Linked DNA regions of Homo sapiens: regions 1, 2 and 4 are each linked to region 3. The links are contacts of gene promoters, found by promoter capture Hi-C in blood cells and fetal thymus (Javierre and others, 2016). All regions are on one chromosome and are shown on one strand. Each heading gives the region's core, a stretch centred on a gene start or on the middle of the fragment in contact. The rest is flanking DNA. Distances are from core to core; before and after follow the strand shown.

Region 1 (7,109 bases), core at 2,443-4,942, 120 kb before region 3:
CAAATTGAATTTATACACGCAGACAATATGAATTTCAAGAGGCGATTCTCAGAAGAGCCACTTTTCACACGAGGACTCTGTGGCCTGCTCCAGAGGAGCAGCAGCAGAATCTACTTATATAATCCTGGTTAAGGATTCTCCCTACTAAAGCTTTGTAGGTCAGCCAGGAAAGGGAATACACACAATCAGGGAAACTCTTAAGTTACTGTTCTTGGAAATCAACCATTCCTATCATCCAAAATATGAGTTTCTGTTTATATGATCTCTAGCGCAAAACCCAAGGCGCATCTCCTAAGCTAAAAAGAATATAGAAAGATGGTAAAAGATGGAAAGTAAGAGTCATTATTGCCACAACCATGACCCTGGGATCCCCAATTCACTACACTATCTCCATATTCTCCTCCTGTGAATTAGCCAATTTATTTTTACATGAGAGGATGCTGGGTGTGTCAAACAGGTCACTTATTGAAAACACACATTGGAAGAAAAGGTATTGAAAGAAATACGTGAAAAGTGCCACAGAGTATTAATTAAGGCTCTTTCCAACTGGAAGTGGTTTGGAAAACACTGTGACTATGGGGTCGTGGGGAACACCTGACCCTCAGCAGGTGCTAGTTTTATTCCCAGCGCCAGTGCAAATCCAACCAGGGATCCCTACACTCACGCGTGGGCCAACAGAGTGTGATCTGGCAGTCAACTTCCTCAATTTGGGGCCTGGCAGCCCCGGGAGCCCGGTGGGCGCTTCCTCGGTGGCGCCCCTCACCCTGCCTCGCGGGGTTCTAACGTCCAAGAGCGGGGCTGTCCGAGAGACCCGCGCGGACACCTGAGGCGCGGTGGGGCTCCCATGGCTCCGCGGAGCCTGCAGGCTCCCAAGACGAGGGTGGGGTGGCGGCTGACAACAATGCTGCCCTTTGCTGGCTGTGTGGGCATCATCCTCTGTCCCTGGGCCTGGCACACCCAGGAGGAAGAGGCTGTGCTTGATCTGTCGGCGGACTGATCACGTGGTGGCCCCACTGCTAACCCCAGACACACCCCCGCTTAGAAGCAGCATCGTTGTCAGAAGCTCGTTGCCACTTAGAATCCTCTGCAAGATGTGGTGGGTACAGCACTGCACTTAACTCCTTTGGTCCTTAGTTTATTATTTTGTAGAGTGGAGATGATACCCGCTCAGGTACCTCATACGCTTATACTGCAGAACTTTGAAAACCAAAGATGTTTTACAAACACATTCCACTGCGATTACAAACATATTCCACTGCAATAACCGGGTGCATATATGTCCGTCATGCTGAACCTGACAGTTTGAGTTGTATATTCAGTGTTTAACAACTATCCTCAACACATAGTAGGAATAAATGAATGATTGCAAGGTTTTGTCTAATTTATTAAAGTGTTAGCATCAGCTGGCTAATGAGTAATAGATGACAGTCATGTTTGTTGAACTCTTTTATGTTTGCCGTTTTTATGATTAATGAATTTAGCAAATTTCCACTGAGTGCCAGTATGTGCTAGGCATTGTTCTCAATGCTGGGGATACTGTAGTGAACAAAACAGATGAAATTCTAATAATAAGGAAAACAATAATAAGATTCATAAGGAAAATTTATAGCATGTTAAGAATAATGAGAGCTAAGGAGAATAATAAAGTATGAAAGGGAGGTGGCGTCAATGGAAATGTAAATGAGGGGAGTCAGGAAAGTCCTCATTACAAAAAAAACTTGCACACAAATGTTCATAGGAGCATTCTTATATATTCCTAATAGCCAAAAATGAAAACAACCCAAATCCCTATCAACTCATGAATGAACAAACAATATTTGGTATATCCATATAATGTATTATTTGATAATGAAACACAACAAAGTTATAGTTTATGCTACAGCATGAATAAGCCTTGGAATCATTACGGTAAGTGAAAGAAGCAAGTCACAAAAGACGTTCATATAAAATAGCCCTGGTAGGCAAATCCACAGAGACAGAAAGTAGACCAGTGATTTGCTAATACTGAGGTAAGTGGGTGGAGAATAAGAATTACTCCTAATGGGTTTGGGTCCAAAATTAGGTGGTGTTACTTACACAACTCTGTGAATATACTAAAAGCCACTAAACTATATACTTTAAATAGGTAAATTTCAGGCTGGGCACAGTCGCTCACGCCTGTAATCCCAGCACTTTGGGAGGCGGAGGCGGGCAGATCACGAGGTCAGGAGATCAAGACCATCCTGGCTCTACTAAAAATACAAAAAATTAGTCAGGCATGGTGGCGGGTGCCTGTAGTCCCAGCTACTTGGGAGGCTGAGGCAGGAGAATGGTGTGAACCCAGGAGGCATAGCTTTCACTGAGCTGAGATTGCGCCACTGCACTCCAGCCTGGGCAACAGAGCGAGACCCCATCTCAAAAACAAACAAAGAAACAAAAAAACCCACAAATAAATAGGTAAATTTTATAATATGTGAATTATATCTCAATGAAACTGTTACAAAAATGAAAGGCAAGATGTGTGCTTTATCTCTTTACTTATGAAATTTTGAAATAATGAACACCCTCCAAGGGTGACTATGATTCTTTTTCTTTTTTTTTTTATGGGGGAAGGAGAGATTGGCCTTTTAAATTTTTATGTATTTGCTTTGTTGACCAGTGCATGGTCCATATAGTGTCACTGACTTCCTCTCCCTAGAATATAAGCTCCCTGAAGGCAGGATCTTGTCTCTTCTGTTTAAATCTGTTGCCAGAAGCAAGAATTATGCCTGGTGCAAAGTAGATTGTCAAAAAGTAGTTTATGATGAATGTATGAATAAATGGAGGAGCTACCCTATATTTACATTTGCGGCTCATTCTCTCCGGTATCTCAATTGTGATATCCTGCTCTGTGATCAAAAACAAATATCTTTCAGATCTGCCATGTCATGACTCCCTATCTAGAGCTGTTCTTTGTGTTAAACTAGCTCAGGCTCTGAAGCTGGGACCTTGTTCAAGGATGCATGTAAATGGGGTCAAAGATTGGGGCTGCAGTTGCACCTGGTCTCCACTTGCAGGGCAGACTCCCTTGGTGCTGGGTTGATTAGCTAGGAGGAAGGGGCCTCAATTTCTAATTGTACTGTTCAGAGGGGACTTACCTTCTATTTCATTTTCCCAGAGGAGCTGTTATTAAGCAATCTGTCCTTTTGAACGGGGTACTTTTGTCTAGTTTGCACAAAGGCATCTTAGGTGTTAGCAGCCCCTTTTCAGATTATTGGCCCCCAATCTCTACATTTCTTTCAAAATTTCTGGCATCATATCCTTCCTCATTCAGCCTGGATCCCACAGATCCACTAATTATCATCTTATTAAAACCCACAAATGCAAGTTTGCCACCTTGTAATGCCACCTTTTCTGTGTAGGATATTTTAGGGAAACTCTCACAATGGCATGGATAGACACCCAACAAAGATGTCATCTGAAAGTCCAGTATCTTCATCTGTGCTTCTAATTAAATCGTTGAGTATAATTTGGCCAATTTTGCCTCTGATTCCTGGCAACTCTTAATCCAAACAAGTACTTTATTCATTACCACCCCTCACTCCTAAATGACTGCCTTGTCAATTTTTTCAAAGGAAAGACAAAGTCTCTCATGTTCTTTCTTATCCTTCTCATATGGAGGAATGGATAAAGAACATTTACATTAAAGCTAATTTTTCACTATTTTCTTACTTGATCAGAATTAGGTGTCTTTCCTCTATTCTAAAGTGTAATCTGTCCCTGTGCTACTAATCTCATGTCCTTCAAAGGGCTTATAAACCTTAATCCATCAATTATCTCTTTCTCCCCAGTATATTCAAATATTACTCCCTGCTTTGTATTTCTTCTCAACCCATACATTTATGCAAGTCTCTCTCACAGTTGTGGTTTTTAGTTCATGAAGGTAGACCAAGCAGATGCTACTTATTCTTCATATGAACTCCAATTCCAAGGAGCACACTTACAAAAAAAATTCCATTGCCACATTGAAAAATAAGAAGCAACTCTCTTGGTGAACCAGAATCTGTGAATTCCTAAGAGAACAAAAGTATACAGACTAGACTGAAGAAAAACACACAATAATAAAGGACCTGCAACAGAAGACTGTTCTAAATGGTGGAAATTTTTGCACTTCATAAACAAATGGCATATATGTAAATAACACAGATACTCTAATCTTGAATTTGTATCCCCCCAAATTACTTAAGGGGCAAGATGGGGGGAACCCAGTTGCCCATTTCTGGGACAGCGAATGTATAAATGTGCGGGGTGCATGGCACAGACTTTAGGCAGCATTTAAAATCAACTGATAGAGGTACTGATAGCCACACGGATAGATCTTTAAAACTTACTGTTAGGAGGAGCAAAGTTTGTGCATGTAATTTATGGGTGTGTATGAACTTCATGGATTCCAGATACATTCCTACAATAGAATGCCATACATTTTTGGGGAGATACTGACAAATAAAATATGCATGTTTTATAAAGTGGAACAATTGCTCATGGAGGGAGGGAAGGGGGAGTGGGGTATGGAGATCAAAGAAAATTTAAAAAATAGGAAGCATCCTTATAGACACAACAAAACATTTCTAAGATAATTTGCTTAAAATTTGAGTGTGATAAGCCACAGTGTAAAATTATAGGCAAAAATATGTAACGTTTTGGGAGCTGGACTTTCTAGACAAACTAAATCCAGTAGCTATTAATTCATGTAGTCTCAATAACATAAAGATATGGCTAATTGTAATATACCTTCTTCACTGTAGGTAAGCTATGCATGTTTTAATAATATCCAGTGAGAAAGAAATAATTAGTAGTATTTAGAGCTAATAAGCAAAGAAGCCTTCACAAGCAATGGGATTATTTATCATTTATGCGAAGTCTCCTTCTCACAATGAAATAATTTTCTCGAGTTAGCATTTATTACATCATTATCAATTTTAGGTATAGATTCTACTCTAGTAACATGTGCCCATTCATAGAACTTCTCTTGTATGGAAGAATCCCTTAACTCAGGCTGACCATATTCAAACTGAGATAAATTCATGCACAGTTCCTCATGTAGACAAAAATAACCATATTCATCAATTTTAATTTTTATTAATGAAATAGGGGGAAGAGAATACTGAGATGGATTTAATGAAATTACATTTTCCAAGAAGCCTCTTGAACAGAATGAAGTTCTTCATTTGCCACTAAACTTTCCTCCTTGACTGAGCTCACTGATGGTTTCTTTAATATGCAGAGAAAGGATCTCCTTCTGCCATGAACCTGAGGTAAGTTAGATATCAGTAAATTGATCATTAGCACACTCTAAAATAAAGAACTATAGAATTTGGGTTAGAATTTTGGAAATAATTCTAATAGAAGTATTCTCCTCATTGAGATTTTTATTTTATTTATTTTTTTAGAGATGAGGTCTCTGTCACCCAGCCTGGAATGCAGTGGCACTATCATTGCTCACTGTAACTCTGAATTCCTGGGCACAAGCCCTCCTTCCACCTTCCCCTCCTAAGTAGCTAAGGACTGCAGGGATGTGCCACCACTCCTGGGTAATTTTTTCAACTTTATGCATTTTATTTTATTTTATTTTACTTTACTTTACTATTTTATTTTATTTTATTTTATTTTATTTTATTTTATTTTATTTTATTTTATTTTATATTTTTGTAGAGATGGGGTCTCATTGTGTTCCCCAGGCTGGTCTCAAAATCCTGAGCTCAAGCAATTCCCCTGCTTTAGCCTCTCAAAGTGCTGGAATTATGGGTGTGAACCACCCCACCAGGCGAGATTTTTAAATTAAACCATGTGCTTTTGATACTTTTTAGTTTTTTTCTTTGTCCTCTCTCCCTTTCTCCCTGGTTTCCATCCTCCCTTCTTTTTTGTTTCTATAGATTGAAAGCCAAAGACAATGCTATATGAAAAGACAGTCCCCAAGACAATGATTGATCATAAAGGGCATATTGTTTTCTACTCAAACTTGATTACATTATTAAGTATAGCATTGAATAGCTGTCAGTTTAAATTCTATTTAGTTGGAGTAGAAATCTATATGTTCTTATATACCCAATCCATGTTTGTTCTCTTTTCACTTTATTCAGAGAAGAATTAAGAATAAGACCTCTGTGAGTGTGTGTGTGTGTGTGTGTGTGTGTGTGTGTGTGTGTTTGGTGTGTTTTGTTTACTTTGCTTTTAGTTAGAGCCATATTTTTTTGAGATTTCGAGTTTGAATACCTTTAGATGGAACTTCAGCTCCCCATTTTAATACCTTACTTAAAGAAGATTCATTGAAAGGCAATCAGTGATCCAGATAACAGGTTTTCAATACCCTAATTCATCTGGAATTATAGCTAATTCACATGTTTTGAAAAGCAAGTGACTTTTGCAGTACAAATGAAGATGTAGCCTCTGAGTGTCAAGAGAAAGTGGGAAATACAAGAAAAGAAATCTATATGATAAATTCCTCTCCCTCCTAATTCATTTTATCAGTTTAATTCAAAATAGAGATTCCTAAACAAAGCTATTTACAAATTAAGATGGTAAACTTAACAAGGCATATTTATGGAATGATAAGTAAATTGGTGAGGCTGGAGCACAGCATTTATGGGCGTGAGTGGTAGGAAATGAAGTCAAGAAAGTAGATTGGGCTAAATTATTACAGAAATGAATGTTGTGCTAGAATATCAGGCTTTCGTGTGGTAAGTGTTTCCTGTTTAAACTTTCATTTGGGGAGATGAAGAAACAGAGGACAGAATTGAAATACATTTAGGGGATCATGTAAAAAGGATTGTCAAATTGTTTCAATTTGAGAGTATTTCTCAGCTCCCTCGCCAGGGCAGGCAGGTAGATAGATGGTGGTGCTCTTAAATGGAAAAGACAAGGTAATGACTTTGTGGGTGAGATGATTAGTTCAGTTTTAGATATGTTTTATTTGAGGTGCTTTGGAATCCTTCGAATCAAACTCTCTAGAGAGAAGTTGGCAATATGAGCCTAGAGCTCAGTAGAAAGGTCTAGGGTGGAGATTTAACATTTGGATTATTATAAATTTATAGATGGTATACATCTACCAAGCTGTAGGTATATATGGTGTTGCCTATACAAAAACTATAGAG
Region 2 (6,506 bases), core at 2,008-4,507, 100 kb after region 3:
TTTTTCTCAAATGCACATATCTTTTTTTTCCTTTACTGTCCTTTTTTTTTTTTTCCATTTTGGTTTCTATTACTTTTTTTTTTTTTTTTAGACAGGGTCTCATTCTGTCACCCAGTCTGGAGTGCAATGGTGTGATCTCAGCTCACTGCAACCTCTGCCTCCCGAGTTCAAGTGATTCCCCTGCCTCAGCCTCCCAAGTAGCTAGGATTACAGGCATGTACCACCCTCCCTGACTAATTTTTGTATTTTTAGTAGAGACAGCATTTCACCATGTTGGCCAGGCTGGTCTCAAACTCCTGGCCTCGGGTGATCCACCCGCCTCAGCCTCCCAATGTGCTGGAATTACAGTTGTGAGCCACTGCACCTGGCCTGGTTTCTATTACTTTTTAAACATCTTTAATGATTTAAAATGTATTTTCATAATAGCCTTGTTCAAATTATTATGTTATCTCCAATTCTTGAGCTTCTGACTTTCATGTTTCCCCATTTGCTGCCGCTACTCATTTTTTTGTGCTGTTGTTATGTTTCTCATAATATTTTGGTTATTAGATAACTTCAGTTTGTAGATGGTGGTAGTGGTAGGGTTCTTTGATAGGGAGGCATCTTATAAGTTGGGTTTACGGACATCTCCTTAGATAGTAGTTTTAGATTTGATTCTGCTAGAACCTTAGAAGTTTCACATATCTCGTAACAGTTTTTAACTTAATGCTTTTATTTGAGGTCCCCCTATTTTATATGTAATTATGAATTCAGATGGCACACTTGCACAAAGCTTAGTGAGCTGACGGAAGGTTTTCTTGAAACTTCTTGGGATGTTGGGCAGAATTTTCCTTATATTATTTTCACAAATTGAGTAAATATTCAGTATCAGCTTTCAACATTTTTGCAGGGTACTCCATATGAGCTTTATGGCCCTGTCCAATGCCAAATCTTGTCATGGATGTTAAAACTGTGTGATCCTAGCCTCTAATACCAATATTCCTATTCAGACTTCCTTGGTATTTTGGCCTCAGCTCTTGTTTGATGATTTGGCTTTAGGATCCTTCTTAGCTTCTGGAACCTAAGTCATCTTTCTTCTTAGATTTGTTTTTCCTTCTGCCCTCCCTTCCTTTCTTCTTCCAACTTTGGCTATATATTTTTTAATTTTTAAAATTTCATTACTTTTGTTCAGGTAATTGCTGTGTTAATTAACAAAGAGTAGGCCTTTGGAGTCTGCTTAGTCTGCTATGTTGCAACTTCTCTCATATTGTAGGAAGTTCTTTTGGACTCCAGTTGTCTCAGAATGGGAAGCAGTTTGGGGTAATGAAATTCATTTTCTTTAAATTAAACCCCCAATATGCCTCTCCCACCCCCATTGCTTTACCACATGTCTGTCCTACACCAGGATGACACTATCTACTGGGTTTCCTCCAGACAGGTCTCTGTGCTCTTCCACTTCCTCAAGCTCCTGAACCAAAGGGGTTGCTTTTGACAATCTCTGGGTCACATGAGCAGACCCACAGGAGTGCAAAAGCTTGCACACATTTTCTGAGATTTGTGAGATAGATGGATCCAAGGGAATGAGAGATACTACCTTGGGTTCCCTGTGCTCCTACTAGGAGGATTCATAGAGGAAGAAGTCTTTCTTCTTAAAAGGCCACTGGTTTATGGTTTTAACACCATGATACTATATTTATAGGATTGAATAAGCAAGGCTTGTCACCACGAACAGGTAGTGATCATCAAGTTTGGGAGAAAGGTGCCAAGAAAATGCTGCCCAGAGAGGTTGACATTTTTTCTAGAAGTCAAATCCGTTGTCTCCCTTCCCACCACTCTCTGTCAGCCCTGTTAGACCAAAGTACAAAATAACTATGTATTTGGACTTAAGGTTCAAGTTTTGTGCCTAACATAATGTAGCATACAGGCTTGCATTTGAAGATTAACTTAAACACCGTACAGCCTCTGCTAGTCCTCAATTCACTGATGATCAGAAGACAAGCATCTTTAAGGGGTAGGGGCATCCAACCCCTGGAAAAGAACCCAAAAGAATCCCAAATTAAAATATAATTCAAATGAAGAATATTTCTGCCTGTGATGAGTAGGAAGAATATTTCTGCCTGTGATGAGTACAACAAAGGTTGTACTTTAAGAGTTAAACCCATTAAGGTTGGAACGTTTGTGATTAAGAAAGACCAGTGGAGGGATAGACTCCCTACTGTCCTTCATGATTTCCTCTTTTGACTTTCTATAGTACATCCCCCACACCATGCAGTCAGCAGACAGGCCTCTTCCAACCACAAGTTTTTGTTTATTTCTGTCTGTCTCCAGGCATTCGGACCGACCAACCAGAGACTGCCAGAAAAGCAGAGAGTATGCAAAGGGGAGACACAGAGATTTCACATGACAGGATATTCAGTCTGAAACTACTCACTGTTAAACTGACACTGGTCAGGAGACAATCTTTGATTTCATATATTGGATAATAGTACTCCGAATAAGGCAATGAGGATAGATAATCCATTTCTGAGCCACAATGTTGAGAGGCAGTCCTCAGGGCTACCATGCTGTCAGCAAGGAGGAAGAGGCCTGCTCCTGCAGTAACAGAACTCACTGCATTTGAGGTCAAGCTGCTCAGGTCCTGGAAGAGAAACTCTGCATTGGGTTCTCATCACAGAATCAGCACGTGACACTATTAGTCCTCTGTCCATTGTACTGCAATGGTGCTTCCTTGGGTCTGTTTCCTTCCTGTTTCCTTGTGTGGGCACAAACTGTGTTTTATTCATCTTTGTATCTCTTGTCGCTATTTAGTTAATCATGTGATATAATTAGTAAATGCTTATTGAATAAGAAAATGCATGGATAATTCCTCCTTAGGGAGAGGGGTTCTGGCCCATTGACTCTCTATAGCACTCAAGATAGAGACAGTGCTGCTCAGGTCACTGCCAACATCTCCCATGACTTCCTCAATAGCCTTAGAATCATTCTGTTGCCTTCAGGGCTTCTAGAATATGGACTTCGGTCCCCTCTGGTAAACTGAATCCATGACTTTGATTTACATAAAAGAGCAGCTTCAGAGAAAAGGTGGAGGCAAACTGGAAAAGTTGGAAAACCTATCTATAGGTCTGTGGGAACATAAAATAGGCTTTCAATTGACAAGCAATTGATCTTGAATTGACAATCAATATTTGTTCAATATGACAAGCATATGCCTTCGATTTTCCTAAGTGACAGGGCATGAGGCAGAGGCACATGGGCTTAGACCCTGTGCTTCTCTCTCCACCCATTCACAAACAGAAATATTATCAGACTGTAGCCACTTTTCCCACAAACCTTGGAGGGAGAAAGGGAGGAAGCAGCTATAAAGCCTTTGCTTCTCTCCGTAGCAGCCTTTCTCTCTTCCCTGCCACACACCCATAGAGGTGATTTAGGGAAAAGCCACATCCTGACTCAAGAAGATACAGGGCCTGGCTAGGCACAGATGAGGACACATGGATGGTGCATGAGGCTGGTATATGCTCCTGATGATTGAAGCTGCAGTCTAGAACCCAGGATTATGGAAGAGGGTTTTGAAGAGTTCACAGCATTCATTGGTTGGAGTCATAGTTCTGGACTTAGAAACTGAAATCCTCTCCTCCTATCCCAGCTCTGTCACTGACCCATCTGTCACTGATCCATCTGTGTGCTTGAGCAAGTCCTTCTTACTCTGGGCTTCAGTTATCTCTTTTATAAAATGTGGAAGATGAATCTTCTGATCTCAGAAGTGGCTTCCCAAATGCACTGAATACACAGAAAGGGAAATCTATGCTTGGACTTGACAACAATGTGGGCTCCACAAGTGGGACAAAGAACAACATGTGGGCTCCATTGCTCATATGGTAGCTTTGGGCAAAGATACTGCCCACTGGGACTACTTTTCCTTCAAAGACTCAGCACATGAATCCATATAGCTACAGAGCTGGAGTAGAAAAGGGCAGGACAACCATCCTTCCCAACATACATTGTCTTCCAGTGATGCTTAAACAGAGAGGAGCATGTGCTGGAAACCTCGCACAGAGCCTGGCACATCAGTGTCTTTGCTAGTGAATCGTCATGCTATGGGAGAATCCTGTCTCCTAAAATGTAGAAGAGGAGTTGGGAAATGGTGTGGTGAATGTGGTTCTCATAGGCCTGATCCACCTGTAGGTAGGTATTCCAACTTCTTCAGTTTGCTTTTGTCTTTTCTCTGAAGCCGCTCTTTTAAGTAAGAAGACATACATTGGGTTTCTAGGGAGGGACCAAAGGTCATATTCTAGATGCACTTAGGGCAATATAATAATTCTAAAGTTGTTGAGGAAGCCAGGGGTATGTTGGCAGTGGCATGAGTGGTATTGTCTTTGAGTTTGGTGCTGCAATCAGTGCTGACATTGCAGACATCCCCCTCACCCCTACTCCATCACCCTCATTTTCTCCCACCTTACTTTAAACTGATTTTTTTTCTCAAACATCCAATTATCAAGCATGAGTCTTTGGATGGAAATAGTCTCCTCCAGCCTGGATGAAGACGGCAACACCCTCTTCTGACAGGGGAATGAATGCCTCCCCACCTGATATTTGACTGAAAGAAGTTTATTTCAGTTGCTTAAATAGTAGAACTTTGAAAATATATCATGGACTTCTTTCAACTTGTTACCACGGTCACAGAGTAGGGTAAACCAGTTATTCTGCTTTGCCTGGGGAGTAAGGGGTTTCCCAGGATATAGGCTTTCTGGGCTAAAACTGAGACAGTCCTGGGAAAACCAAACAATTGGTCACCCTGACGCTGAAGGGCTAGAATTTGTGTGAAGTCCCAACTCTATGAATGGGGACATTTGGCATCAAAAAGAACCCCAAGAGGCAGGTTTTATAGAAAAAAGGATCTGTAGGCTCTCTCTGGGATGGGTGGCTACCTTATTCAAGGTCAAGGTTACAAGCTATAAAGAGTCCATGGTACATTTAAAAATGTACACTTTTTAAATAACTGAGGTAAACCTCCTCCAAGCTTGGAATATAATCCAGGAGCAACATTGTGTAGACGAAAGAGCACTGGTCTAGAAGGCAAGAAATTTGGGCTCTACTCTTGGTTCTACCAATGGGACAGCCAGGAAAACCTGGGCTTCCTAGCCTGTTCTAAGCTTTTTCTCTCTAAATTGTAAAATAGGGATTTTTAAACTAGAAGAATTAACTCTGACGTTCCTTCAATTCCAACCAGCTGAGATTTGATGGTCCTTATACTTACAAAGGGCTTAGTTGATTGTTTTCCAGAGATAATTGAGAGGGATCCAGTAATGCCAAACTGCCCAGAAGAGAGAGAAATGATCAGTTCAGTTGTCTTGTGGAAATGTGCCCACCATGTCACTGTCAATCACTCAATCAAAAAGTGATGTTGGAAAACTTTTAGGGAGAGAACACTGCAGAAATCTTGTGGATCTATATTGCTAGATAGGCCTAATTCCCACCTGATATAAGAATGTCTATATTGACTTTGAATGACATGCAGATGCACAGAGGGGTTGGATTTGTTTTAGTGGAAATCACTAGGAACTGAGGAGGCCTGGAGAAAAGGTGTACCTGGGAAGGAGAAGAGTGTTACTAAATTACAGGGTTGAAAGAGAGGAGGTTGAGATGGACCAATGACTTGAATGGACAGAGAGATTGGAACAGCCAACAGAAGCACTCAGGAAAGAGGCTCTGATGGGACAAGGTGCAGAAACACATGGACTGGAAGTTATTGGTGTATGTTGCTTGAGTCAGAATGGGAGTCGAGGAAAGTGGGAAGAGCAGGCTCAGACGTGAAGTCTTTATCATAAAGCCCCAGAAATCAGTATTTAATCTCAGTGGTATTAAAGATCCAGCTGGCAGAGGAAGGGTATTCTGAGAAGCTGAAAAGTTGCTTAAGTGTGTGGCTTGGATATTGAATAATCACAGGCAAAGAGGGTCCAGTATGAGCTAACGCTAGCTTCTCTAAGGAGATGTGGGGCCCACAACCACTGGTTACAGGAGAAGTCAAGGACAAATTGTGCTCTGGGGCAGGACCAGGGCCTCCTTATGTGACTGCACAGTTTGTGTTCACACAGGGACTGTATCCACACAGAAGTGGTACCTTAGTATAGTTCATTTGCCCAGAATATTTGATTTTTATCCTTTGTACCAAATACTACGTGGAGAAGAAATAACCCTTTGTGGGAAGTGTGAGTCTGCCCTGGCCACTCTCTGAAAAATGGATCTACTGGGCCCTTTTTCATGAGCCATTAGGTGGAAGGCAGCAAAGAGAGTTTCTCTAGTGCTCAGGGTTACCTCTGGACACACAGCAAGCATGTCCCTGCCTCCCATGAATCTTACCCTTGTTAATCCAAATCTCTGCAAACCTGTGGCATCAACCAGTGGTGCTCGTTTTATTGTTTAAAAATGGCCTTCTCACTCTCTACCTGAAAAGTTGATTATTCTTACAATGGAGGGAATCCAATGGCCTCATCAAAGCCTCAAAGAGGGATATGGAAAATCATCCACTT
Region 3 (6,659 bases), core at 3,824-6,323:
TAACAGTGCTTCTGTCACGTCAATATTACCAAATTCTCCAGCTAGGGAGGCTCCTCTGTGTCTTGTTATATTTTTGCTTGATCTAAAATGAAATGAACTCAAGGGAAAGTCTATAGGCAGACTAAATATTTCTGTCTAAAAGAGATAATTTCAGAATAACGTTCAGAACTTTTTAGCAATTGGATGATACTCTCCTATAACTTATAAGAAGACCTTGCAAATGTGAAATTAAAATTCTGGTAGTAAATAGACTTACCCCTAGTGCCTTTGCTTCTTCTTTAAAGTTCATTACTGCTGTTCCCACACTTGGATTTATCATTTGTATATTTCCTTGACCCGGTTGACTGCTAGCAAAGATTCCCGGAGATGTGATGCCGTAGGGCTGAGCACGCTGAGCACCCTGAGCTTGGTTTTCTAAGTTGATTGAACCCAGAGGCTGTTGAAATCCAGGAGCCATAAAGCTGCTTGGTGGGTAAGGGTTGGGTATGGTTTCATTTACTTCAGCATGGCTTGTTGGCTTGGATGACATCATTATGTCCTAAGTATCACAAAACATACAAAAGTGATACGTTTATCCAGAAAAGAAACTAAAGAAAATCTTACCAAATGTCAAATGTCAATTATCTATGCAAATGGAGAGAACAAGTGAGCAGATAATGGGCCATAACAACTGATAGAAACATGATTCTCATAAGTCCCCAACCCCCACGCCAAGGACTGGTACCTGTCTGTGGTCTGTTGGAAACCTGGCTGCACTACATGAGGTAAGCAGCAGGCAAGCATTACTGCCTGAGCTCTGCCTCCTATCAGACCAGCATGGCATTGGATTCTCATAGCAGCATGAACCCTACTGTGAACTGCACATGTTGGGGATCTAGGTTGCATGCTCCTTATGAGACTCTAATTCCTGATGACCTGAGGTGGAATAGTTTCATCCTGAAACCATCCCTCATTAGAGAGATGCTATGCTGCCAACTGTGAAGTTGGAGGAAGGCGTCCATGAACCAAGGTGTATGGGTCGCCTCTAGAAGCTGGATGAAACAAGGAAACAGATTCTTCCCTAGAGTCTCCAGGAAGGAACATGACTCTGCTGACACCTTGAACTTAGTCTAGTGAGCTGGTATTGGAATTCTGACCTACAGAACTGTCAGATAAAAAAATTATATTGTTTTAAGCCACTACATTTGTGGTAGTTTGTTATATCAACAAATAGAAAACTAATACAGGGGCCAAGTAATACAATACTTGTATGGCAAGGAGGGCAGTCCAAGATTAAAATTGTTTGCCAGTAATTGGGAAACTAGATAGTTCACATATGCCCACTTAAGATGATTCTTCTGTTCTTTAGGAAAAATGCTTTTATTCATTTCTGTCCTTCTGAAAGCTTAGAGCATCTCAGGCCCCATGTAGGCAAGGGAAATTTTGTTGGAAATAAGCCAGTACAACTGAATATGGACAACAATGACTATTAATTCTTGAAAAAAATTATGACACTTAAAAAATTTGTCTTTAGCCTTAGATTCCTTTTTTTGAGGTCTTCAAAAGCACAACAATTTTCTTGTGCTTATGAATATCAAGAAAGTTAGAGTGATGAATGTCTCATTCTTGGTATGAAGTATGAATACTATGAATAACCTATTGGTACAATGTATCACTGGTATCTAACAAGGACACATATGCAGACCCTGTGCTCATAGAATCCAGAAATTTTAGGGTAGAAAAGACCCTTTCCATTTATCCTGTCTCATTCCCCTTGATTTACAGATGAGAAATTGAAGCTGAGTCGTTAAGTGACATGCTCAAGGTTACACAGAAAACATGTGGCAGAGTTAGGACTTGAAAATGGGATTCTTGGCTGTTGGTTCAGAATCCCCCTCCATGCAGCATCACTCTGGACATTTGCAGCTTGTTTTCCAGGCCAGCCTTGGTGACAGGGTATTGACTCTGCTCCTGCAACTACCCAACAACAAAACTTCTGTCTTCTGATGCCATGGAGAGGAGTTTATAAACCGGATTAACTTCTTTGTGATTGAGTGAGTTAGTAAGGATTCTCTTTAGCAAGCTTTAGGTGAGGTGTATAGAGAGCTAACATTTATTAAAGACTTATTATAGGCACAGTAGGGTCTGTATAGTGTCATGTTTAGGAACATGAACTTGGGATCTAACTCCAACTTTGTGTCTTTGGCAAGTTTGTTAACCTCTCTTTGCCTTTGTTTTCTGTCTGTAAAATAGAGCTAATAAGACTACCTTCCTTAGAGAGTCAGTTTGAGTATTAAAGAGTTATTCTCTGCAAAGTATGTGGAATTGTGCCGATTACAGGGTTGGCTCTATTATTATTTCTATGTTAAGTGCATGAGATACATTATCTCTGTACCCTTTACAGAACCCCATGAGATAGGTACTCTACTAAAATCCCCATTTCACAATGAGAGAATTTAATCCAGAACCTGTACTCATAACCCTTACCCTCCGATACTAGATGCAACTGAAAATGGTTGAAAACTCAATGAAAAGGGAGAAAACATCTTTCTGAAATATCTGATTACAGAGGAATTTTTTTTTTCAAAATGGAAACACATCCAGCACTTTAGGAGGCCGAGGCGGGCAGATCCCGAGGTCAGGAGATCGAGACCATCCTGGCTAACATGGTGAAACCCCGTCTCTACTAAAAATACAAAAAAAAAAAAAAAATTAGCCGGGTGTAGTGGTGGTCGCCTGTAGTCCCAGCTACATGGGAGGCTGAGGCAGGAGAATGGTGTGAACCCGGGAGGTGGAGCTTGCAGTGAGCCGAGATCGTGCCACTGCACTCCAACCTGGGTGACAGAGCGAGACTCCATCTCAAAAAAAAAAAAAATGTAAACACATTTGAGCCCACAAAAGTTTATTTTAAACAAGGAAAAAGGAAACAAGTCCATAGCTGTGACTCTTGGAGTAACACCACGTAACTCTCAATAGCATTTGAGAATGTGAGGTTATACATCCTATGGATCTGGTTTCGGTGGCCAAATATTGCTCAAGCCCTCTTTTCTAATCTTCAATCTGCTACTTCACTAAGTCTGGGACTTTAAGCAAGTTTCTTAATGAAATCCCTGTTAGTTCCTATGTCTCAACTGTAAAATGACAGAAGGTACCTAAGGAGGCTAGTCTAAAGTTCAAATTATCCTAATTTATGCAAAACTGTTGGAACAGTGCCTAGCACATGGCAAGAGCTTAAAAAGGAACTATTATTTTATTATTAGATCCCAAGGTATTCTATCTTGTTTTAGGCAGTGGATGTGGCCATAGGAAAAGTTTATAAAAGGAATTGAACAGGGTCAATTTCAAGAGCAAAGAAATAGGAGATGGGTACTCAGAGTACAGTAATTAACCAGAACAAGAATTTTTTTGAGCTTTTAAAAAGCATACAATTAAAGAATTGTCCACGTTTCTGCATGTATATGATTTCATTACATTCTCCTTTGCTGTTGATCATTGCTTTTTTTTTGTCTCGAGAAATTTTATGAGGAAAACTCAATACTTTTCATTTATTTATCAACAGTTTCTCCTTTCATATCTGCTGTTTAGTTTCTGGACTAAGATCTGTAAATTTCACATAGAACCCAGATTATTCATGGCTAGGTCTATAGTTATTAGGACTCAGAATACATTTTTACTGGGTCAAGTTCTGGTTTTATAAAAGGAATTAAAGACAGAGCCAGCCAGTTCTGATTCTTTAATTATTCAATTGAAATGAAGACAATTCTGTAAATGATACATGAGAAGGGAAACTAATAAATAGACTCCTTTTATAGATTCCACCTATTGACTTAGTAGGATTGTTCTCTTGACAGTTGACAAAATATTTACCCCTAGTTGTCCTTTTTTTAAAAATAAGAATTAGAACAACTGCAATTATTTTTAAGAACAAGGAACACATAAAAATATTGGAGCTCTGATGAGATCAAAAGTATAAGACTAAAGCAATTAGAGAAAACCTCAGCAATTTGCTCTGTGATTACATTATTTCAAATAAAAATGGGAAAAATTTACTTCTTTATAGTTTCTTTCTACCTCATTTTCATGCTAACTTCACTTTTGACAGAGTGAAGATGATTATTATTTTCAAGAGTACTTTATAGCATAAAGCAAAACATGAAACCGAATCATTTTCACAAAATCACCCAGTACATCCACAGGTATACACTTATATCACCTTTCACAAAATGCTGATCTGGTGAAAATGAATGTTCTTTCCCTACCTATTTTAATTTTAATTGTTTTCTTGTCAGAAAGAAGTACCTTAATTAAAATGTGTTACAAAGCCAAGGGCTCCAGTATTACTTCTGTGTTCTATGTTGTCCCTGTGGTAGCCACATAATCATCAAGTGCCCAGTGGGGCATGGCCTCGTCCTTTTGGGCCCATGTTCATGGAATGGCATACAGTTGAACCTATTATTCACCTTTCTTAGCATTAGCTTTTTTTTTTTTTTTTTTTAAGATGGAGTTTCACTCTTGTCACCCAGGCTGGAGTGCAATGGAGCGATCTCGGCTCACTGCAACCTCCGCCTCCCGAGTTCACGTGATTCTCCTGCCTCAGCCCCCCGAGTAGCTGGGATTACAGGCACCTGCCACTACGCCCAGCTAATTTTTGTATTTTTAGTGGAGATGGGGTTTCACCATGTTAGGCAGGCTGGTCTCGAACTCCTGACCTCAGGTGATTCTCCTGCCTCGGCCTCCCAAAGAGCTGGGTTTACAGGTGTGAGCCACCGCACCCAGCGAGCATTAGCTTTTTTTTTCTTTTTGCAGTCCGTTTTATCTCTTGTACAGCAACCAACTTACTTTTTCATTCCTCTTCTGTTTTGTTTCTTTCTTGTTTCGTTCATGGTTTTATTCTCCCTCATTTTTCAACTGGCCTCAACATAGAGTCAAGAACTTGTCTTCATCCCTCCAATCTAGAGAACAGAACCCACACAGGTAGACCAGCCACAGTTTGTGCCCATTGATTTGGAGGAGAGATAGGCAAGAACGTATCAATGGACTTACTTTGTTCCTTTGGCACCTCTATGTTTCCTCTTTCTCTGCTCCAACCTGTGTGCCAGTATCAGATATTTACCTGGATTTTATAGGTAGATTTTATTTCCGTTCTCCAAACCAATTTGTCTTGTATCTTTATGTAGTTCCAGAGTCCTTTTATGGTTATTTCTCTTTCACCTCAAGAGATGTAAATGCAACTGTAAAGTTTGGAATACGCTGTGCTTTCACATCCTCCTCTAATTTTTACTGGGAAGCCTATTGTGACCCTCCCAAACACTTTAGTATTTATTTTCTCCAGCTTTCTAATGCTCAATCATTGCAATATCATACTGCATTTTTTTATTTTTATTTTTATTTATTTATTTTTTTTACTGGGATTTTATTTTTAAATTTCTAAACACTCAAATTATGTTTATAGTCTCTTTTTTTTTTTTATTGATCATTCTTGGGTGTTTCTCACAGAGGGGGATTTGGCAGGGTCATAGGACAATAGTGAAGGGAAGGTCAGCAGATAAACAAGTGAACAAAGGTCTCTGGCTTTCCTAGGCAGAGGACCCTGCGGCCTTCCGCAGTGTTTTTGTCCCTGGGTACTTGAGATTAGGGAGTGGTGATGACTCTTAACGAGCATGCTGCCTTCAAGCATCTGTTTAACAAAGCACATCTTGCACCGCCCTTAATCCATTGAACCCTGAGTGGACACAGCACATGTTTCAGAGAGCACAGGGTTGGGGGTAAGGTCATAGATCAACAGCATCCCAAGGCAGAAGAATTTTTCTTAGTACAGAACAAAATGAAATCTCCCATGTCTACTTCTTTCTACACAGACACAGCAACAATCTGATTTCTCTATCTTTTCCCCACCTTTCCCCCTTTTCTATTCCACAAAACCGCCATCGTCATCATGGCCCGTTCTCAATGAGCTGTTGGGTACACCTCCCAGACGGGGTGATGGCCAGGCAGAGGGGCTCCTCACTTCCCAGAAGGGGCGGCTGGGCGGAGGCGCCCCCCACCTCCCTCCCGGAGGGGGCGGCTGGCCGGGCGGGGGCTGACCCCCCCACCTCCCTCCCGGACGGGGCGGCTCGCTGGGCGGGGACTGGCCCCCCACCTTCCTCCTGGACGGGGTGGCTGCCAGGCGGAGACGCTCCTCACTTCTCAGACGGGGCGGCTGCTGGGCGGAGGGGCTCCTCACTTCTCAGACAGGGCGGCTGCTGGGCGGAGGGGCTCCTCACTTCTCAGACTGGGCGGCCGGGCAGAGACACTCCTCACCTCCCAGACGGGGTCGCCACTGGGCAGAGGCGCTCCTCACATCCTTGACGGGGTGGCAGGGCAGAGGCGCTCCCCACATCTCAGACGATGGGCGGCTGGGCAGAGACGCTCCTCACTTCTTGGACGGGATGGTGGCCGGGAAGAGGCGCTCCTCACTTCCCAGACTGGGCAGCCAGGCAGAGGGGCTCCTCAAATCCCAGACAATGGGCGGCCAGGCAGAGACGCTCCTCACTTCCCAGACGGGGTGGCGGCCGGGCAGAGGCTGTAATCTCGGCACTTTGGGAGGCCAAGGCAGGCGGCTGGGAGGTGGAGGTTGTAGCTAGCTGAGATCACGCCACTGCACTCCAGCCTGGGCAACATTGAGCACTGAGTGAACGAGA
Region 4 (6,343 bases), core at 170-2,669, 100 kb before region 3:
GCCGCAATAAACATACGTGTGCATGTGTCTTTATAGCAGCATGATTTATAATCCTTTGGGTATATACCCAGTAATGGGATGGCTGGGTCAAATGGTATTTCTAGTTCTAGATCCTTGAGGAATCGCCACACTGTCTTCCACAATGGTTGAACTAGTTTACAGTCCCACTAACAGTGTAAAAGTGTTCCTATTTCTCCACATCCTCTCCAGCACCTGTTGTTTCCTGACTTTTTAATGATTGCCATTCTAACTGGTGTGAGATGGTATCTCGTTGTGGTTTTGATTTGCATTTCTCTGATGGCCAGTGATGATGAGCATTTTTGCATGTGTCTGTTGGCTGCATAAATGTCTTCTTTTGAGAAGTGTCTGTTCATATCCTTCGCCCACTTTTTGAAATATCTTTCTTCACCCCTTCACTTTCAGCCTATATGTGTCCTTAAAGGTGAAGCGAGTGTCTTGTAGGCAGCATATAGTTGCATTTTGTTTTTCAGTCCATTTAGTTACTTAATTTTTTTATTGGAGAATTTAATCAATTTACATTCCAGGTAATTATTAATATATAAGAACTCATTGCTGTTTTGTGGTTTATTTTCTTTTTAAACCATCCTTTGTTTCTTTCCTCCTCTCTTACTGACTTTTGTGATTTGATGATTTTCTATGGTGGTATGATTTGATTTCTTGGTTTTTATATTTTGTGCAAGTATTATAAGTTTTTGTATTGTGGTTACCATGAGGCACAAATAAATTATTTTGTAGTCGTACCAGGCTTTTAAAGCTGATAACAACTTAACTTTCAATACAAAATGTCTACATTTTACTTTTTCCCCTATTTGTTATTTGGATGTCAAAAAAGTATATCTTTTGTAATTTGTATCCCTTAGTTTATTGTAGTTATAGTTGTTTTAATAGTTTTGTCTTTTGAGTTACTGGGTGCAGCACACCAGCATGGCACATGTATACATATGTAACTAACCTGCACATTGTGCACATGTACCCTAAAATTTAAAGTATAATAATAATAAAATAAAATAAAAAAAAGTTTTGTCTTTTAACACTCATATTAGAGATAAAATTGCTTTATGTACTACCATTACAGTAGTAGAATATTCTGAATATGACCGTATTATTTATACCATCAAGTTTTATACTTTTATATGTTTTTTGTTATGAATTTGTGTCTTTTTTTGGTTTCAGCTTAAATAGCTCCCTTTCATGATTCCTGTAACGCAGGTGTAGTGATGATGAGCCCCCTTAGCTTTTTTTTTTTTTTTTTTTTTGATCTGGGAAAATTTTAATTTTTCCCTTATTTCCTTAGAATAGCTTTGCAAGGACTGGGCACGGTGGCTCATGCCTGTAATCCCAGCACTTTGGGAGGCTGAGGTGGGTGGATCGCCTGAGATCAGGAGTTTGAGACCAGACTGGCCAACATGGTGAAACCCATCTCTACTAAAAATACAAAAATTAGCCAGGCGTGATGGCAGGTGCCTGTAATCCCAGCTGCTCAGGAGGCTGAGGCAGGAGAATGGCTTGAACCTGGGAGGTGGAGGTTGCAGTGAGCTGAGATCACGCCATTGCACTCCAGCCTGGGTGACAAAAGCGAGACTTTGTGTCAAAAAAAAAAAAAAGAAAAGAAAGAAAAGAAAAAAGAAAAAAAGTCAAAAAAAGAATAGCTTTGCAAGGTAAAACATTCTTGGTTGACTTTTTTGTTGTTGTTGTTGTTGTTGTTTTTACAGCACTTGAAGTATATTATTCACTCTCTCCTGGCCTGCATGATATCTGCTGAGAAGTCTGCCGATAGCTGTATTGGAACCCTCTTGAATATGATATGTTTCTTATCTCTTGCTACTTTCAGAATTCTTTGTCTTTGATTTTTGTTAGTTTGAACATGATATGTCTCGGTTAACCCTTCTTTGGGTTTAATTTGGTTGAAGACTTCTGAGCTTCCTGTATCTGCATGTTGCCATCTTTTTCCAGATTTGAAAAGTTTTCAGCCATTATTTTCTTAAATATGCTTGCTCTTGCTTTCTCTCTTTTCCTTCTATAAATTCAATTATGAAAATGTTATTTGAAATGGTCAGGGTCAGAGACTATATTCCACAGATATGTGTAGTCATAGGATTCCCTCCCCGCCTGGGTCTGGACAGAACCTCCGACTGGGTTCTGAAGATTGATGGGGCCTCTGCTCAACTGCTAGTGTCAGGCAGAGCCAGATGCTTTGCTTCACAGATATGCTCATATGTTGGCTTGCCTCCCAGCCTGATAAATCCTTATGCAGGTCTCTGAGGCTGGGTTACTGCTTAGCTAATCATGTTGAGCTGGGCCAGAAGGTACACTCTGTAGTAATGTACAAATGCAGACCTGCTTCTCAGCCTGGGAGAGCCTTATGCAGAGCTCTGATGCTGGGTGTCAAAGCTAGACAAAGACTTGAGCCTGGCAAATCTCTCAACTGTGCTTCCTGCAGAGAGATGCTTTTGGCTAATCTCTCTGGTCAGGTGCCTCTGCTGACCAGAATACAGAGCCACAGCCAAGATTCACATGCTGGTTGCTGTGGGCCCCAACTTTCTATTTCTAGCTGACACCACATAGTCTACCCCTGCTGATACTTCTAATGTTCCCCATTTGGCAGGTGGGCCTCCTGCAACACACCCAAGAATGCTGGGGAAGCTGGATGTCCACCACGGGCGCCCTCTTTATTCCCTTGTAGAAATCTTGGGCCTAGGGAAATCCTTTCTGTGTGGTGGGTGCTATGCCATTGTTGTGGAGAGGTGACATAGTCAAAGTGAAATCATTTCTCTTACCTTTCTAATGTGGCTTGTATTTTCATCACAGTGTGATCTGAGAGCATAAATTGTACAATATTTATTTTTAAAAATCGACTAGCATGTATTTTATGACTCAGAACATGGTCTATCTTAGGGGCTGTTACAAGTGTCCTTGAGAAAAATGTATTATTTTATTGTATGAGTATTGCATTGGTGTCAATCATATCCAGATGATTGACAGTGCTGTTGAGTTCAACTCTGTATATACTGATTTTCTGCTTGCAGAATGTCTTTATTAATCACAGGAGTTAAAGTCTTCAACTCTAATAGTGGATCCATATATGTTTTCTTGTAGTTCTATCAGCTATTGCCTCATGTATTTTATCACTTTGCTGTTGGCCACATACATTGACCCCTTTATCATTATGCAATGCCTCTCTTTATTCCTGATAATTTTCCTTGCTCTGATATCTGCTCTGTCTGAAGTTAATATAGTTACTCCTACTTTCTTTCAATTAGCGTTCACATGTACTACACTTGATCTTAGCCTAAAAGCCGAGAAGCGATAATTAGTGTTAACATGTGATATCTTTTTCCATACTTTTACTTTCAATCTATATGTGTCTTTATATTTAGAGCAGGTTTCCTGTAGACAACATATTGTTGAATATTGTTTTTTGTTTCACTCTTCAAAAATCTGTCTTTTGATAGGTGCATTTAGATCACTGGTGTTTATAGTGATTATTGATAGAGGTGGATTAATATCTGTCATATATTTATTACTGGTCTCTATTCATTTCCCTTGTCCATGATTGTTTTTTTCAGATTATGCTGTTTTTCTACCTTTTTGTTTGGCTTAAATGAACATTTTATGTGATTCTATTTTCTCTTCTTTATTAGCAAATCAAGTATTTAAGAAAACTTCTTAAAGTGGTTACCACAGTGTTTTCAATATACATTTACAACTAATCCAACTCTATTTGTCAAATAACAATATACTACTTCACAGATAGTACAAGTATCTTATATTAACAAAGTAGTCCTAATTCCTTCCTCTCATCTTTTGTATCATTGCTTTCTTTCATTACATCTATTCATAGGGTATGATCATTGAATACATTGCTGCTATCATCATTTTGAGCAAACTGTTAGGTTAAATATAAGAAAAATAAAAGTTTTAATTTTTTACCTTCACTTTTTCTTTCTCTATCTTTTTTTCTTTATTAAGTTCTGAGTCTGACAAATATCAATATTTTTTGGTTCCTGAAAAAACTTATTTTAACATTTCTTGCAAGGCAGGTTTACTCTCATCAAATTTCTTCAAATTTGCTTGTCTGAGAAAATCTTTGTTTCTCCTTCACTTCTGAAGTATAATTTCATAGAGTGCAGAATTCTAGGTTGGCACTTCTCCAAATACTTTAAATATTTAACTCCACTCTTTTTACTTGCATGTTGCATGAGGAGAAGTCCTATGTAATTCTTATCCTTGATCCTCTATAGGTAATTTTTTTTTTTTGGCTTCTGATATGGTTTGGATCTGTGTCACTGCCCAAATCTCATGTTGAACTGTAATCTCTCATGTTGAACTGTAATCTCTCATGTTGGAGGTAGGGCCTGGTGGGAGGTGATTAGATCAAAAGGGTGGATTTCCCCCTCTGTTCTCATGATAGTGAATGAATTATCATGAGAGCTGGCTGTTTAAAAATGTGTGGCACCTCCCCGCACCTTGGTCATGCTCCTGTCATGTAAGATATGCCTGTTTCCCTTTCACCTTCTGCCATGATTGTAAGTTTCCTGAGGCCTCTTCAGAAGCCGAGCAGATGCTATCCTGCTTCCTATACAGCCTGAGGAACTGTGAGTCAATTAAACCTCTTTTCTTTTTATAAATACTCAGTCTCAGGTATTTCTATATAGCAGTGCAAGAACAAACTAATAAAACTTCTTTCAAGATTTTTTTAAATATTTGATTTTCTGCGGTTTAAATATAATTTTCCTAAGTGTATGTTTTTGGCATTTATTCTGCTTAATGTCCTTTAAGTTTCTGGATCTGTGGTTTGGTCTGATATTAATTTTATGAAATTCTCAGTCATTGCTACAAACATTTCTTGCGTTCCCTCGTGTTCTGTTTTTGGCAGTTCCATTACGCACATGTTACTTCTTTTGTCTTTATCTCACAGTTCTTGGATTTTTGTCCTGTTTTTTTTTTTTTTTCCAGTTTTTTTCCCCTTTACTTTTTAGTTTTGGATGCTTCTATTTACTGATCCTTAAACTCACTAATTCTTTCCTCAGACATGTCCAGACTACTAATGAGCCCATCAAAGGCATGATTCATTTCTGTTAAAAGGTTTTTTATTTCTAGCATTTCCTTTTTATCACTTCTTAGAATTTCTGTTTCTCTGATTACATTACTTATCTGTTCTTGCATGTTGCCCACTTTTTTCCGTGATATTTCTTAGCATATTAATCATAGCTTTTCTAAGTCACAGTGTGATAATTCCAACACCTCTGTTACATCTGGTGTTTTTAACTACAGTCATCATGTTGCACCATAAGGTCTCTTGCACTTATTACTCCTAACTAACTAAAATTTTGTAAGCTTTGACCCTTCCATCACAGGATAATACACTCTCTCAGCTTTTGTTTGTCTGAGAAAGTCTTCATTCTTAATTTTTGAAGAACAGCTTTCCTGGGTTATTTGTTGACAGTATTTTTCTTTCACCACTTTGAATATATCATCCTATTCTGTCCAGGTCTGTTAGGTTTCTGCTGAGAAATCTCCTACTAGCCTTATTGAAACTTTCTTATACATTAGTTACTTCTTTTTTTCTTGTTGCTTTCAGGAGCCTCTCTTGGTCTTTGATTTTTGACAGTTTGATTATATCTTGGTGTAATCTTGCTTGGATTGATCTAATTGGAGACCTTTGGACCTTCCTGTACCTGGATATTTATATCTTTTCCCAGATTTAGAAAGCTTTCTTATGTTATTTTAATAATATTCCTACCCATTTGTCTTTGTCTTCTCCTTCTTGAACTCCTATATTTTGAATATTTCCTCTCTTGATCTTGTCCCATGAATCCTATAGACTTTTTTGTCCTTTTCATTTTTTTCTCCTATGACTGTATATTTTCAAACGCCTTGTCTTCAATGTCACAGTCTTTCTTCTCCTTGATGAATTCTGTTGTTGCTGCTCTCTATTGTATTTTTAATTTCATTCATTATTTTTCAGCTTCAGAATTTAATTTTTAAAAATAATTTTATTCACTCTTGTAAAATTTCTCATTTTGGTCATTTATTGTTTTCCTGATTTTATAAAATTATATGCATTTTCTTGACGTTCTTTGAGCCTTTCAATAACAATTATTTTGAATTATTGATGATGAAGTTCATATATTTCCATTTCTTTGGGGTCAGCTACTGGGAGCATATTGTGTTCTTTTGGTGGTATGTCTTCTTGTTTTCTCATCTTTTTTTGCCTTATATTGATATCTGTCCATTTGAAGTAGGAGCCTTATTCCAGTTTTTTCATGCTGGCTTTGTCTGGAAAAGACTTTCACCAGTGAGCTCATTCAAAGATTCTGGG

What was found. Contacts are between HindIII fragments. The CHiCAGO score rates a contact against its expected background, and 5 or more counts as called.
Region 1: a fragment that was not itself captured here is called in contact with the fragment with the promoter of MS4A12 in region 3 in 4 of 17 cell types (total B cells, naive B cells, M2 macrophages and 1 more); the score reaches 14.9 in total B cells.
Region 2: a fragment that was not itself captured here is called in contact with the fragment with the promoter of MS4A12 in region 3 in 1 of 17 cell types (total B cells); the score reaches 5.7 in total B cells.
Region 4: a contact is called between a fragment that was not itself captured here and the fragment with the promoter of MS4A12 in region 3, in 2 of 17 cell types (naive B cells and total B cells). The highest score is 5.9, in naive B cells.

Annotation. Positions count from the first base shown.
Region 1 is chr11:60,609,408-60,616,516 of GRCh38, reverse strand. It overlaps LOC105369321 (a long non-coding RNA gene), which reads left to right. Exons shown (of 6, transcript XR_001748240.2): 5 at 5,110-5,273. It overlaps LINC00301 (long intergenic non-protein coding RNA 301), which reads right to left and starts at 766. Exons shown (of 7, transcript NR_026946.1): 1 at 665-766. The HindIII fragment of the contact is 7,080 bases long and covers 153-7,109 here.
Region 2 is chr11:60,385,501-60,392,006 of GRCh38, reverse strand. It overlaps MS4A7 (membrane spanning 4-domains A7), which reads right to left. Exons shown (of 7, transcript NM_021201.5): 4 at 5,234-5,290; 5 at 2,411-2,617. Among named protein-coding and RNA genes, the nearest start is that of MS4A14, 7.7 kb to the left of the region's middle. RefSeq lists an enhancer at 2,441-2,510. The HindIII fragment of the contact is 3,483 bases long and covers 1,516-4,998 here.
Region 3 is chr11:60,491,192-60,497,850 of GRCh38, reverse strand. It overlaps MS4A12 (membrane spanning 4-domains A12), which reads right to left and starts at 5,073. Exons shown (of 7, transcript NM_017716.3): 1 at 5,023-5,073; 2 at 257-538. The coding sequence starts at 532. RefSeq lists enhancers at 5,350-6,087, 6,088-6,659. The HindIII fragment of the contact is 5,161 bases long and covers 2,065-6,659 here.
Region 4 is chr11:60,591,371-60,597,713 of GRCh38, reverse strand. It overlaps the pseudogene MS4A19P. Among named protein-coding and RNA genes, the nearest start is that of LINC00301, 21 kb to the left of the region's middle. The HindIII fragment of the contact is 7,883 bases long and covers 1-5,360 here.